3 separate regions of the Homo sapiens genome follow, and all the other regions are linked to region 2. Evidence: promoter capture Hi-C in human tissues and cell types (Jung and others, 2019). All regions are on one chromosome and are shown on one strand. Each heading gives the region's core, a stretch centred on a gene start or on the middle of the fragment in contact. The rest is flanking DNA. Distances are from core to core; before and after follow the strand shown. Region 1 overlaps ENTPD6 (ectonucleoside triphosphate diphosphohydrolase 6). Region 2 holds the start of ZNF337 (zinc finger protein 337). Region 3 overlaps ABHD12 (abhydrolase domain containing 12, lysophospholipase).

Evidence for each region. Contacts are between HindIII fragments. The study calls those that stand out against the background at their distance.
Region 1: a contact is called between a fragment that was not itself captured here and the fragment with the promoter of ZNF337 in region 2, in 1 of the 25 tissues and cell types used here (lymphoblastoid cells).
Region 3: a contact is called between a fragment that was not itself captured here and the fragment with the promoter of ZNF337 in region 2, in 1 of the 25 tissues and cell types used here (hippocampus).

What each region holds. Positions count from the first base shown.
Region 1 is chr20:25,204,456-25,208,250 of GRCh38, forward strand. ENTPD6 (ectonucleoside triphosphate diphosphohydrolase 6) reads left to right here. Exons shown (of 15, transcript NM_001247.5): 2 at 2,067-2,135; 3 at 2,621-2,942. The coding sequence starts at 2,082. Among named protein-coding and RNA genes, the nearest start is that of ENTPD6, 11 kb to the left of the region's middle. The HindIII fragment of the contact is 3,524 bases long and covers 1-3,267 here.
Region 2 is chr20:25,694,367-25,698,434 of GRCh38, forward strand. It overlaps ZNF337 (zinc finger protein 337), which reads right to left and starts at 2,487. Exons shown (of 5, transcript NM_015655.4): 1 at 2,393-2,487. It overlaps LOC107985400 (a long non-coding RNA gene), which reads left to right and starts at 2,675. Exons shown (of 2, transcript XR_007067557.1): 1 at 2,675-2,797. RefSeq lists an enhancer at 1,891-2,000. The HindIII fragment of the contact is 16,641 bases long and covers 1-4,068 here.
Region 3 is chr20:25,322,617-25,326,450 of GRCh38, forward strand. It overlaps ABHD12 (abhydrolase domain containing 12, lysophospholipase), which reads right to left. Exons shown (of 13, transcript NM_001042472.3): 3 at 709-814. Among named protein-coding and RNA genes, the nearest start is that of ABHD12, 66 kb to the right of the region's middle. The HindIII fragment of the contact is 7,604 bases long and covers 1-3,834 here.

The DNA of each region.
Region 1 (3,795 bases), core at 256-2,755, 490 kb before region 2:
ACTTTTACAAAGCTTTATATATATATATATATATCTTACTTTCTCAAAGTCTCCCCCAGTCCCTCCTTGGGCCTCAGATGTTCTACTGTATTTCTCACCTGTCATTCTTGCCCCAGGTATGCGTGGGGCTATAGTCATCCTACAGCTTTGCCTAGCAGTGCCCATAACCATTTCCCTGACTTCCTATCTGGGCTCTGAGCTCAGAGTCAGGTGAAACAGAGATCTGTTCCTCAGGCAGCCCAAGACAGATTAGGATGTTGCAGAAAGGTCCGCTCTGCTCCCTCCAGTTCAAGGGAAGGAATTGGGAACCGGGCTGCCGCATTCATCAGGTGGTGCCATGCTGGGGAGGCCTGGGGCAGGGGTGAGTGAAACACCTCAGAGTTCCTGACATCCTGAATGTGGCTGCTTCTGGGCTGGGCATTCTCTTGGTTGCTGTAGATCGTTGCCTGTTTTGCAGAGCTCCTATGCAATATTTTAACCAGTCTCTAGTTGTTTTTAGTGTTTCTCTGTGGGGGAACAAGGGCCTTTGAGCTTCCTCTTTTGCCGTCTTGCTGTGTCCTCTCCCTGTTTATGGATTTTCTACAGGACTCTGTTGTGTGTCTGGTGACGTTATAGAAGGTGCGGGGGTAGAGGAGCAGCCTCTTCCATTCTAGAGAAGGGCTTGGATGCCATGCTGGGCAGCAGCAGCACAAGACAAGCTGAGTCCCTGCCCTGGGGGCTCATGGCCTAGTGGGGAGACACAGACCTACAGGAATCAGGTCTATGAATACTGGTTTCATCACTGCTGGTGGTGGGTAAAGGGAGCTCAGAGAGTGCGTGATGGGGCATGTGCAGGTTGGGGGCATCCGGGAAGGGGGTGGCAGTGACATTTCAGTGGAGGTTTCAGAATGAAGACACGGTGCCAGTGTGGTGGGACAAGTATTCTGGGAATGCGTATCAGTCTGTGCCAGGGGCCTGAGGCAGGGAGAGGCTGAGTTCTAGGGGCAGAAGAAGGCACTGTTCTCAGAGCACTGTGGGCAAGGACGAAAGAGGAGTGCGATGAAGCCACAGGGGCCAGCAGGGACAGGGGCCGGCAGGGACAGGCCCAGGCAGAGGCTGCAACATGATCCTGAGAGCTGTGGGAAGCCCCCGAGTGTGGTGGGACCCAGGCCCAGAATAGGGCTGGGGAGGGGCTGCACGTTGGCACCTGCCAGGAGAGGCTTTTTGCAGCCCTGCCCGTGGCAGATGCTCAGGGAAGGGTGGTTTTTCCTGTCTCCTGCTCCAGTGTGGGTGGCCAGGCCACTGGTGAGGCCTCTCCCCTCGGCACGGGGCACTGTGGCAGTGCTTGTCTTACCTCTCTGGGCCTGAGGATATCCAGCTGTGGCCACAGGCGGGACCTCAGGAAGGAGGGGCCAGGAATGGCCTGCTCCCCGTGCTTTGCCCCGCGGGCCCTGTCCTTCCGTTCTGCTGTGCCCAAACAGCCTCAGGTAGCGCAGGTCGCTGCGGGCTTGCTCCTTTGACTGCTACTGCCCCCTCCTCAGCAGTGCAGCCATGCTGTCCTTGGTTCCACAGAGATGTCACCTCCTGCTGCCCTTCTGTAAAGCCCGCATGTGGCACGTGCTTTCCCTGCAGCCTGTTCTGAGCACATTGAATCCCCACAGTCACGAGGGGCTCTCCAATGAGCAGCCCCACCTTGCAGATGAAACTGGCCCCCTTGAGGGGCATGTTGCCCACTGTCACACGTAGCTGCGGGCAGAGCCGGTGCCACTTCCAGCCCGGCATCCTCCTGATCCCTGCTCCCCTAGGAGTGGCCACTCACCAGGACCGACTGAGAGAGTGAGGGAGGGACAGGCTGATGGACGTTCCCCAAGGTTGGGGGCCCTAGAGTCGGCCCACACTTCTTGTCCTTTGAAGCCTCAGGTTCCCACATGCTGCCTCGCACTGGAGCAGCCAATGAAACTTGAACAAATGCTTTCATTTTGGGTATATCGAACCAAAAACAATGGCACCCAGTGAATTTATTTTGCTACTCTAGTAGAATTTTTGTAGGCTTTGGAAGTACACAGACATTATTTTCTCCTTGGCAGGAATGGGCTATGTGAATGAAAAAAGGTATCCGTTATGAAACTTCCAGAAAAACGAGCTACATTTTTCAGGTTTGTCTGGGGCTCTCAGTAGTTGCCCAAGGGACGGAGTTTAAACCTTTCGAAAAGTAAATTGCCTGAATAGAAGTATAACTGAGGATTGAAAGACTGAATCAGATACGCGCTTCTGTTCCCATGAACAGTTTGGGAACACCATTTACATGTGGCTTCTTTTACATAAATCGCCATGTGTCCCAAGCTGGTGGGACCCTCCCTTAGAGGAGCCAGCCACTGTGGTCTGTGCACCAGGTCAGCAGCTGCAATGTGTGCGACCTTGAGCAGGCTGTCCTGCCTTTATAAACCTCAGTTCCTCTTCTGTAGGATGGGGATCACACCTTCTGGAATAATTATGAGGCTCAAATGAAGCTTCTGATTCCTGGGGGGAACACGGAGCAGTTTCAGGTTGAACATTTTGTCCCTGGGCCTGGGGACGTCTGACTCTCCTTGGATCCTAGCACCCTAACGTGCTTTTCCTGCCTCTCCCCCCTTCCCACCAGCAGCCGCAGCACGGTCCTTGGCAAACAAGGATGAGAAAAATATCCAACCACGGGAGCCTGCGGGTGGCGAAGGTGGCATACCCCCTGGGGCTGTGTGTGGGCGTGTTCATCTATGTTGCCTACATCAAGTGGCACCGGGCCACCGCCACCCAGGCCTTCTTCAGCATCACCAGGGCAGCCCCGGGGGCCCGGTGGGGTCAGCAGGCCCACAGCCCCCTGGGGACAGCTGCAGACGGGCACGAGGTCTTCTACGGGATCATGTTTGATGCAGGAAGCACTGGCACCCGAGTACACGTCTTCCAGTTCACCCGGCCCCCCAGAGGTACCCGCCTCTCATGGCAGGGCTCTCGGGATCTCCTCCCCTGTGCTACAGTGTTGGCCGGGTCCCCTGCCACAGACTCACCTGGGAGCTTGTCTAAATGCAGTTTCCCAGAGATGCTGACGCTGGTATGGGCTGGGGTCCAAGCATCTGAATTTCCCGGGAGTCCCAGATCACTCTTACACTAGTGAGTGGTGACCATGCTGAAGGGCAGCTGAGACCTTGAGGTGTTTGGTGGCCTGTCCCCTCCCCACATTCACCAGCAGGTCAGGTGGCTAGGACCATGATTTAGGCCAGTGGTTGTGTTTGGGGCTTTGTGGGGAGTTCAGGCAGGAAGTATCCCCAGATTCAGTCCCATGGGAGCCAGAAAATCAGGAAAGTCAGATAAATAATAAAGGCTCCTGGGCTTGACCGGGAGCTGCCAGGTGGGCCAAGATGGCCAGGGGCAACAGCCGAGAGGGGTCTCAGCTGGATAAGGGAGCTGGAGCCTGGGCTTCGTTGGCTATGCTTCTAGGGTGGGCCTCAGGCCGGGGTGGGCGGCTTCTCTTGAGGGGTCCCCCTCGCCACCCGGTTCCTCTGCTCTCCAACCACCCTCTTCCCTTGGTTCCCTGATGCCCCTCTCGTGCCCGTGACCCTGAGGTTCGCCCTCCATGTCTCTCTAGCTGTAGCCAGTGAGAGTTTGCAGCCCCTGTCAGGCAGGTCCCCTGGGTGTCCCATGCTCTTCTTGGCTGACCTGGAACCTGTGGGGTAGACACCATCCTGGCATTGCACGGTTCTGCTGGTGCTGGACATTTCTAGCTGCTGTCTCCAAAGCTGAGTGGTGTATTTTATTTACTTTTGACTCCATCTGCGTTAT
Region 2 (4,068 bases), core at 1,237-3,736:
CTATGACATTCCTCAATGAATCTGCACAGATTAGGAGGGGATCTGGGTCAAGCTAGATTAGCTTGCAAGGTCATGAGGTATATCTTGACTGATGGGTCTCTCTACTTGGGGGTTCTGCTGACAATTTTTCCATAATGAAATGATTAAAATCAGTTATTTGGATGGTCAGTCCACAGCCCCAGAGACATTTAAAAAAACTGCTGGGCCCAATGGTTGCTGTTACTCCCACTCCAATAACCGAGGAAGCCCTACCAACCTGGTGAGGACTAAATTCACCTTTTTTCCCTTGCCCAAATGCCTATGTATGAGGCTTGGGGAATCCTGCCCGAGAAACCATAAAATCTCATCAGATGAGTTTTATTACTCTTATATAATGAGGCTCACTTTCCAACCTGACTCTGGTACAGCATCACATGACAGCAGATGCTGAAGGAAATTATTTTACCCCAAAATATACTTCTTTGACATGTTTTGAAGTGGCTGCCACAGGGGCAACAGATTGAAATGGATAGCCCCGCAAAGCTATCTTTAGTGGGAAAATTTGCATCTGCAGCGAATCTCCATTAATGTAGCCAGACCTCCTTTGTTCTAAGCCTTTCTTAGGTCTGGAAGAGACAGCCAGCCTGACGCGCGGTGGCTCACGCCTGTAATCCCAGCACTTTGGGAGGTAGAGGTGGGTGGATCACCTGAGGTCAGGAAGTCAAGACCAGCCTCAGCAACATGGTGAAACCCCATCTCTACTAAAAATACAAAAATTAGCCAGGCGTGGTGGCGGGCGCCTGTAGTCCCAGCTACTCAGGAGGCTGAGGCAGGAGAACTGCTCAAACCTGGGAGGTGGAGGTTGCAGTGAGCTGAGATCACGCCACTGCACTCTAGCCTGGGCGACAGAGCAAGACTCTCTCTAAAAACAAAAACAAAAACACAAAAACCCAAAAAACTGAAAACAGACATTTACCATCTATTCTGAGAGTTGCCAACTAAGAGGCTTCATCTACATAATAAGAACTTTGATCTACGCAATCCCCTTAACTCTGGCATGCTTCTGATTCCAGTCTTCAGGCAGTAGCTTAAGTCTCTCAACCAACTGTCCACTAAAGAATCCCTAAGTGCCCCCATGAGGTGTAAACCCTTTGGAGATATACCAGCTTTTTGGGAGGAACCCGTGTATATCTTTCTCTTATTGATTTATGATTTTCTTTTTGGAGGCAGGATCTCGCTGTGTTACCCAGGCTAGCGTGCAGTGCAGCCAACATAGCTGGTTACAGCCTCCACCTCCTGGACTCAACTGACTGGGCCTCCCAAGTAGCTGAGGCCACAGGCATGGGACACCACGCCCCGCTAATTTTTTTATTTTTCTAATTTCATGTAGAGACAGGGTCTTGCTGTGCTGCCCAGGCTGCTCTGGAACTCCTGGCCTCCCAAAGTGCTGGGACTACAGGCATGAGCCACACTGCTCAGCCTGATTTATGACTTTACCTGAAATTCCTGTCTCCCTGAATTGTATAAAATTAACCTGCAAGCCTGACCATCTCGGGCACTTTCACAGGACCTCTTGAGGCTGAATAACCTGGGCCACAGTCACTCATACTGACTAGGAATAAACCTTTTTAAATATATTTTGGCAGAACCCGGATTTTGCCGTCATTAGCAAGGCCCCAGGGAAGAGGCCACCTGGGTCCCCACAGCCACCTCACCTCCCGCGGACGCTGCCCCACGCAGATCCCCCCCCCCCCCCACCAAAACACGTCTAGACGTGCCCGTGCGAGGACATTTGGTCCCGGCCTACACTCCTATCCGCGGAAGATCGTCCCAAGGCGGGGTGCTCCCAACCCAAAGCAGCGGCCCTTCCCCAAAACACGCGGGCGAAGTCCTCCCCTGTCCCGCCTCCCACAATAAAGTCTGGAGCATCAGAGTCGGAGGGAACCCGAGTCGGACCTAGCCCATCCGTCTCATGGCTGTAACCCCCACCCCACCAGTGGACCCTGGCTGTGGCCGAGTCCCCCTCCACCTCCGGCCAAAAGACCCCCGTGGCAGCTCGCTAGGCCGCTGGCCCGTCCCCACCCGAGGAGCGGCGACCCTGGCACAAGAGGACCTGGGTTGCTCGGCGCCCCTGTGAAATCCGGGCTGTTCACCGCCCGAGCCGCCACTACACGCAACCGGGAACGGAGACTGAGTGGCGGCCCAGACCCGGGGCGCTCGGCAAGCCGCAGCCCCACCGCCCACTTCAAGGCGCGGCCTGGGTCTCCGCCCCTCCCCAGAACGCGGAGACGCCGGGCCTGGAGGAGCGCGCGCTACGGCCCCAGCAGCGCCCTCACGTCCCAGGCCTTCCCGGCCCTTCTTCCTGCGCCGGAAGGGCGCGCTGCAGAGAGGGACCCGCAGGAGCGCAGCTCACCGGGGCGGCTGAGGGCGAACCGAGGCGGTGAGGTCACCGATGGTGGACCACGCATCTCACGGCTCGCTGACGCCCAGGGATCTGGAACGCTCTGCGCCGCCCGGGACTACACTACCCAGAATCCTCAGCGCGGCCGGGACTACGCTACCCAGCATCCTCGGCGCGGCCCGGAGGCTATGCGACCCTGCGCGTCGCATCCCCTCGGTGGACTACACTCCCCAGAGTCCTCGGGAGTCGTCCAGGTACACGCCCCAGAATATTGGTCATAGCGGTCCACCCGGGACTGCGCGACCCGGAATCCTTGGAAGGACTTCTCGGAAGGACTCCTCTCTGACAGGTGGGGCGAGCCTATGGTCGTTTGGACGTGGAGGGATCCTTTCAGAACCGGCGATTTCTTTTATTTAGGTAGCCCTATACATACATTAAGCATATTTTCCCATTTCTATGATATAGGTAAATAATTTTCCCACTGTCTTTTGATTATGGGTATGTCTTTTTTTTTTCTTTTGTTTCTTTTTTTTGCTATGTAGTACTTTTGATCTCTGATTTTCCTACGGATTTTGTGGTTTTATCATTCACATTTAGATCTCTCAATGGTTTAATTTTTCTCCAGGTACACACTGTAAATATACAATTATTTTTAAAATTTTCTAATATTTTATTAATTTCCCATTAAATTTATTAAAAATATAGTCTTTTACCAAATAATTTAAGGTTTCAGCTACATAATTCAGTATACTCAATTTACATTTGCATTTCAATTTCTAATTGTTCCCCCATTTATCTAATTATGCATCAATGCCAGAATTCTTTCATTATGTAGGGTGTATAATATGCTGATATCTTTTGTGGCTTGCCAAACCACGTAGACTTTATATTTCAGGCCTTTACTAGGTATACTTGCTGTTTGCTTTTTCTCTTTTGGTTTTTAAATTTTTAATTATTCTGGATAAATATTAGTTGTACATATTTATAGGGTACATGTTATGTTTTGATACAGGCATACAGTGTTTAATGGTCAAATGAGGGTGATTGGGGTATCCATCCCCTCAAGCATTTAGCATTTCTTTGTTTTAGGAAGTTTCCAATTCTCTCTTATTTTTAAATATATAGTAAAATTGTTCTTAACTATAGTCACTGTATAGTGCTACCAACTACTAGATCTTATTCATTCTAACTGTATTTTTGTATCGATTAACAAGTCCCTCTTTATCTCCTCTACCCACCATCCTTCCCAGCCTCTGTTAACTATCTCATTCTACTCTCCATCTCCATGAGTTCACGTTTTTAGCCCCACAAATGAGTGAGCACATGTGATATTTGTCATGCTGTGCCTCATTTCGCTTAACATAATGTCCTCCATTTTCATACATGCTATTGAAAATGACAGAATTTCATTCTTTTAATGACTGGCTAATATCCCATTGTGTTAATGTACCACACTTTCCTTATCCATTCATCTGTTGATAGACACTTTGATTCTATATCTTTACTATTTTGGATAGTGCTGTAGTAAACATGAGAGTGCAGATATATCCTTGAAATACTGATTTCCTTTCTTTTGGATATATACTCAGCAGTGGGATTGCGGGATCATGTATATATTTATTAATTCTTTTGAGGAACCTCCATACTGCTCTCCATAGTGGTTGTACTAATTTACATTCCTAACAACA
Region 3 (3,834 bases), core at 986-3,485, 370 kb before region 2:
TCAAGTGATCCACCCGTCTCGGCCTCCCAAAGTGCTGGGATTACAGGCGTGAGCCACCGCGCCTGGATGGAAGATATATTCAAACCAGTGTTTGTGATTCTTCCCTTATATTCTCTTTTTTTTGGACACAGAGTCTTGCTCTGTCATCCAGGCTGGAGTGCAGTGGCGTGAACTCAGCTCACTGCAACTTCTGCCTCCTGGAGTCAAGTGATCCTCCTGCCTCAGCCTCCCAAGTAGCTGGGATTACAGGTGTGCACCACCATGCCTGGCTAATTTTTGTATTTTTAGTAGAGATGGGGTTTCACCTTGTCGCCAAGGCTGGTCTCAAACTCCTGGACTCAAGTGATCCACTTGCCTCAGCCTCCCAAAGTGCTGGGATTACAGGTGTGAGCCACTGTGCCGGCCACTTATATCCTGTTTCTAGCTTCTTTGTTTGCTTTTCGTTTTTCCTAGAAACAAGTCTCTCTAAAAATAATAATCTGTTCACAAAGCCTTTGCTGTTTTGAAAGGCTGGGAATAGAGTTTAAAGCCATTGAATCCCTCAACATTAGGATGGATCAAATGTACTGAGATCTTTCCTTTAGGAAAGGAAGAGGTGAAGATAAAAATGAACAACATTTCAGAGGCCAATGTCAAAGACAGCACCAGCTCAGTCATGTAGGGTCCTTTCCTGCTGCTGGAGGGGCTGCAGAGCTCACTGGCACTCACCAGACTCCAATGGTCACGTCTTCCTCTGGCTGCAGGTAGTAGTTACACGTGTGATTCAAACCTTGATCCTGTGGTTTTTTCAAATCAATGAAATAGGGAACTCTTACTGTAGGAAATAAAGAGATGGAAATTAGGATTACTGGTGGATGAATACACACATGTACACACAAACATGCATACTCACACACGTGCACAGATATGCATCCACACGTGCACACACACACATGCACACCCACATGCACACACTGCAGAAGCTCTCAGAAAGCACCAAGTCCTTTTCCTGTGCAATCTTACAATGGTGCCAGACCTGCAGGCCCAGCCTCAGGCAGGGTATGGGCTGAGGCCAGCCAGCATGGGCAGGGACAGAGACTGCAGTGAGGGCAAGGTCTGTGTAGAGACTGGAACGCTAAGGTCTAAGGTCATTCTAGGTGTGAGAAGATGCAAATGAGGGAAGGAAAGATCCCCAACAGGTCTGAAGGATGGGCCAGCCAGGAGGGAGGCTGGGGAGGCTGAGCCTGCGAATAACTCAGGTGCCTGGTGGAGTGGGAAGGACAGCAGGAAAGGGGATGGCGCTGCAGGACCTGATGACCAACGGAACGTTGGGTGGCAAACAAGGTAAAGGGGATTCCAAAGTTTCCAGGACTGCTGCCTAACACAGAAAAGACAGCAGAAGGTGAGGTGTGGGGCAGCGAGGGGGATGAATCCATAGGACCCATGCAGAGCAGAATGAAGTCAGTGCAATGGCCCAGCAGAAGTCCTGCATCTACCAGGTCATCTGCCAGCAGGACAGCGAGTGAATTAACCAGCACCTCACACTGTGGAAGACCATGGGGCCCTTAGACCTGGAGGAACCTCCAGGACCTGCGGGCAGATGAGAGGAGCAAGGTGACTGTGGGTGCGGGTGCGGTAGCCCCACTTTGTTATTGTAAAAACATGCAAATGAAACACGACCTCCACATGTGGCTGGGAGGATATACAGAAAGACAGAAGCCAGGCTGCTCACACAGCTTCAAAGTGTGTGTGTGGGGAGAATGGGGGCAATTTTTTCCTTATATACCATTGTAGTCTTACTGCTTTTGGTGAACACAACTTTAAAATAAGTTTAACTGAAAAACAAAAAATTTAAAATAAACGCATGAACCCTGAGGTGGGATTTGCCTGCTTTATAAAATGGCAACTCCCAAAAGAGGCAATGACAGAGAGCAGTGTGGGCCTGGCTTCCCTCTGGTGGGTCCTGCCCCCGGGGAAGCTCTGCTGCTGACAGCTGTCTCTGGTGAAGACAGGGGTTGCGTGACTCCCATGTCCATGTGGCACATTGCACATCTAGCCTCACTTCCTCAAATGTCACCAGGCTGGACTCACGAGGACATGGGGACATACACACTCCTTCCCAGAAACTCCCTGAGCGTCTGTCCCAGACCATGTGGGGAGACAGTTCCTACCACCAGGGCTGCTGTTCATACCCCACCTTCTTACTCCATCTCTTTCCCAGGAAGCAGATACATCTTCAAAATTTTAGTAAGAAGTTTCTCTCAAAATAAAAAATGGCAAAGGAGATGATCCACATCCCCATTAGCTCCAGCTGAGCCAGGCTGCACAGTCTCTGAGGCAAGCCACCACCATCACCATCTGATGGCTCCTATTAGATTGCCAGCTCACATGACGGAGCTGGATTTTTTGATACCAGCCTGGGCAACACGGCAAAACCCCACCTCTACAAAAAATATAAAAATTACCCAGGTAAGGTGACATGCACCTGTGATCCCAGCCACTTGTGAGGCTGAGGAGGGAGAATCACTTGAGCCCAGGAGGTCAAGGCTGCAGTAAGCCAAGGTTGTACCACTGTACTCCAGCCTGAGTGACAGAGAGACCCTGTTTCAAAAAAAAAAAAAAAAAAAAAAAAAAAGAACTGGCTTTGAACCCGGCAGCCCGGCTGCACAGCCCTGCCTCCTGGCTGGCTGGACAGGAAGTCAGGGAGGTAATGAGCCTGGCCCCTGAGAGGCCTGGGAGGCCCGCCTGCCCTGTTATGGGCTGAGTTGTGCTCCCCAAAAAAGACTATGTTCAAGGCCTCACCCCCAGTACCTAAGAGTGTGACCTTACTTGGAAACAGTGTCTTTATGGAGGTAATCAAGCTCAAATGAGGTCACTGGGTGGATACTAACCCAACATGACTGGTATCCTTATAAAATGGGGACATTTAGACACAGAGACAGAGGGAAGACCATGAGAAGATGACCAAGAAGATGGAGAAGATGGAGGCAGAGATTTGAGGGAAGCTTCTCCAAGCCGGGAATGCTGCCAGACAGACAGGCAAGAAGGGTCCACCTCAGCATCTCAGGAGGAGCTGGGCCCACCCACACCTCGACCTCAGACTCCCAGCCTCCACAACCATGAGAGGATACATTTATTTTAAGCCACTCAGTTTGCAGGTTTGTTTGAGCGGCCCTAAGAAATAAATGCAGCCAGCCAGGCGTGGTGACTCATGCCTGTAAACCTAGCACTTTGGGAGGCCGAGGCAGGTGGATCACCTGAGGTCAGGAGTTCGAGACCAGCCTGGCCAACATGGCAAAACCCCGTCTCTACTAAAAATATAAAAATTAGCCAGGCGTGGTGGTGTGCACCTATAATCCCAGCTACTTGGGAGCCTGAGGCAGGAGAATGGCTTGAACCCGGGAAGAGGAGGTTGCAGTGAGCTGAGATCATGCCACTTCACTCCAGCCTTGATGAAAGAGTGAGACTCTGTCCAAAAAAAAAAAAAGAAAAGAAAAAAGAAAGGAAAGAAGTGAAGGGGAGGGGAGGGGAGGGAAGGGAAGGGAAGAAAGAGAAGAGAGAGGAAGGAAGGAAGGGAGAGAGGTAGGGAGGGAGTGGGGGGAGGGAAAGAAAGGAAAGAAAGGAAAGCAAGGAAGGCTCTTCTGCAACAGGAAACAATTGAAGAAACTGGTTATTTTACCAAGGCTTTGACTGGAATGGCCTGCTTTCCTTTAAGGATTCAAAGGACTTATAGCGCCAATAAAAGCCCCGTGGGTAAAACTGGCCTCATAACTTGTCTATACAGTCCCCATACAGGGCTCCTGACCTGTGGTAAAGAATGTCACTTTCTAATAGGCCCAGGAGGCCCAAGTTATT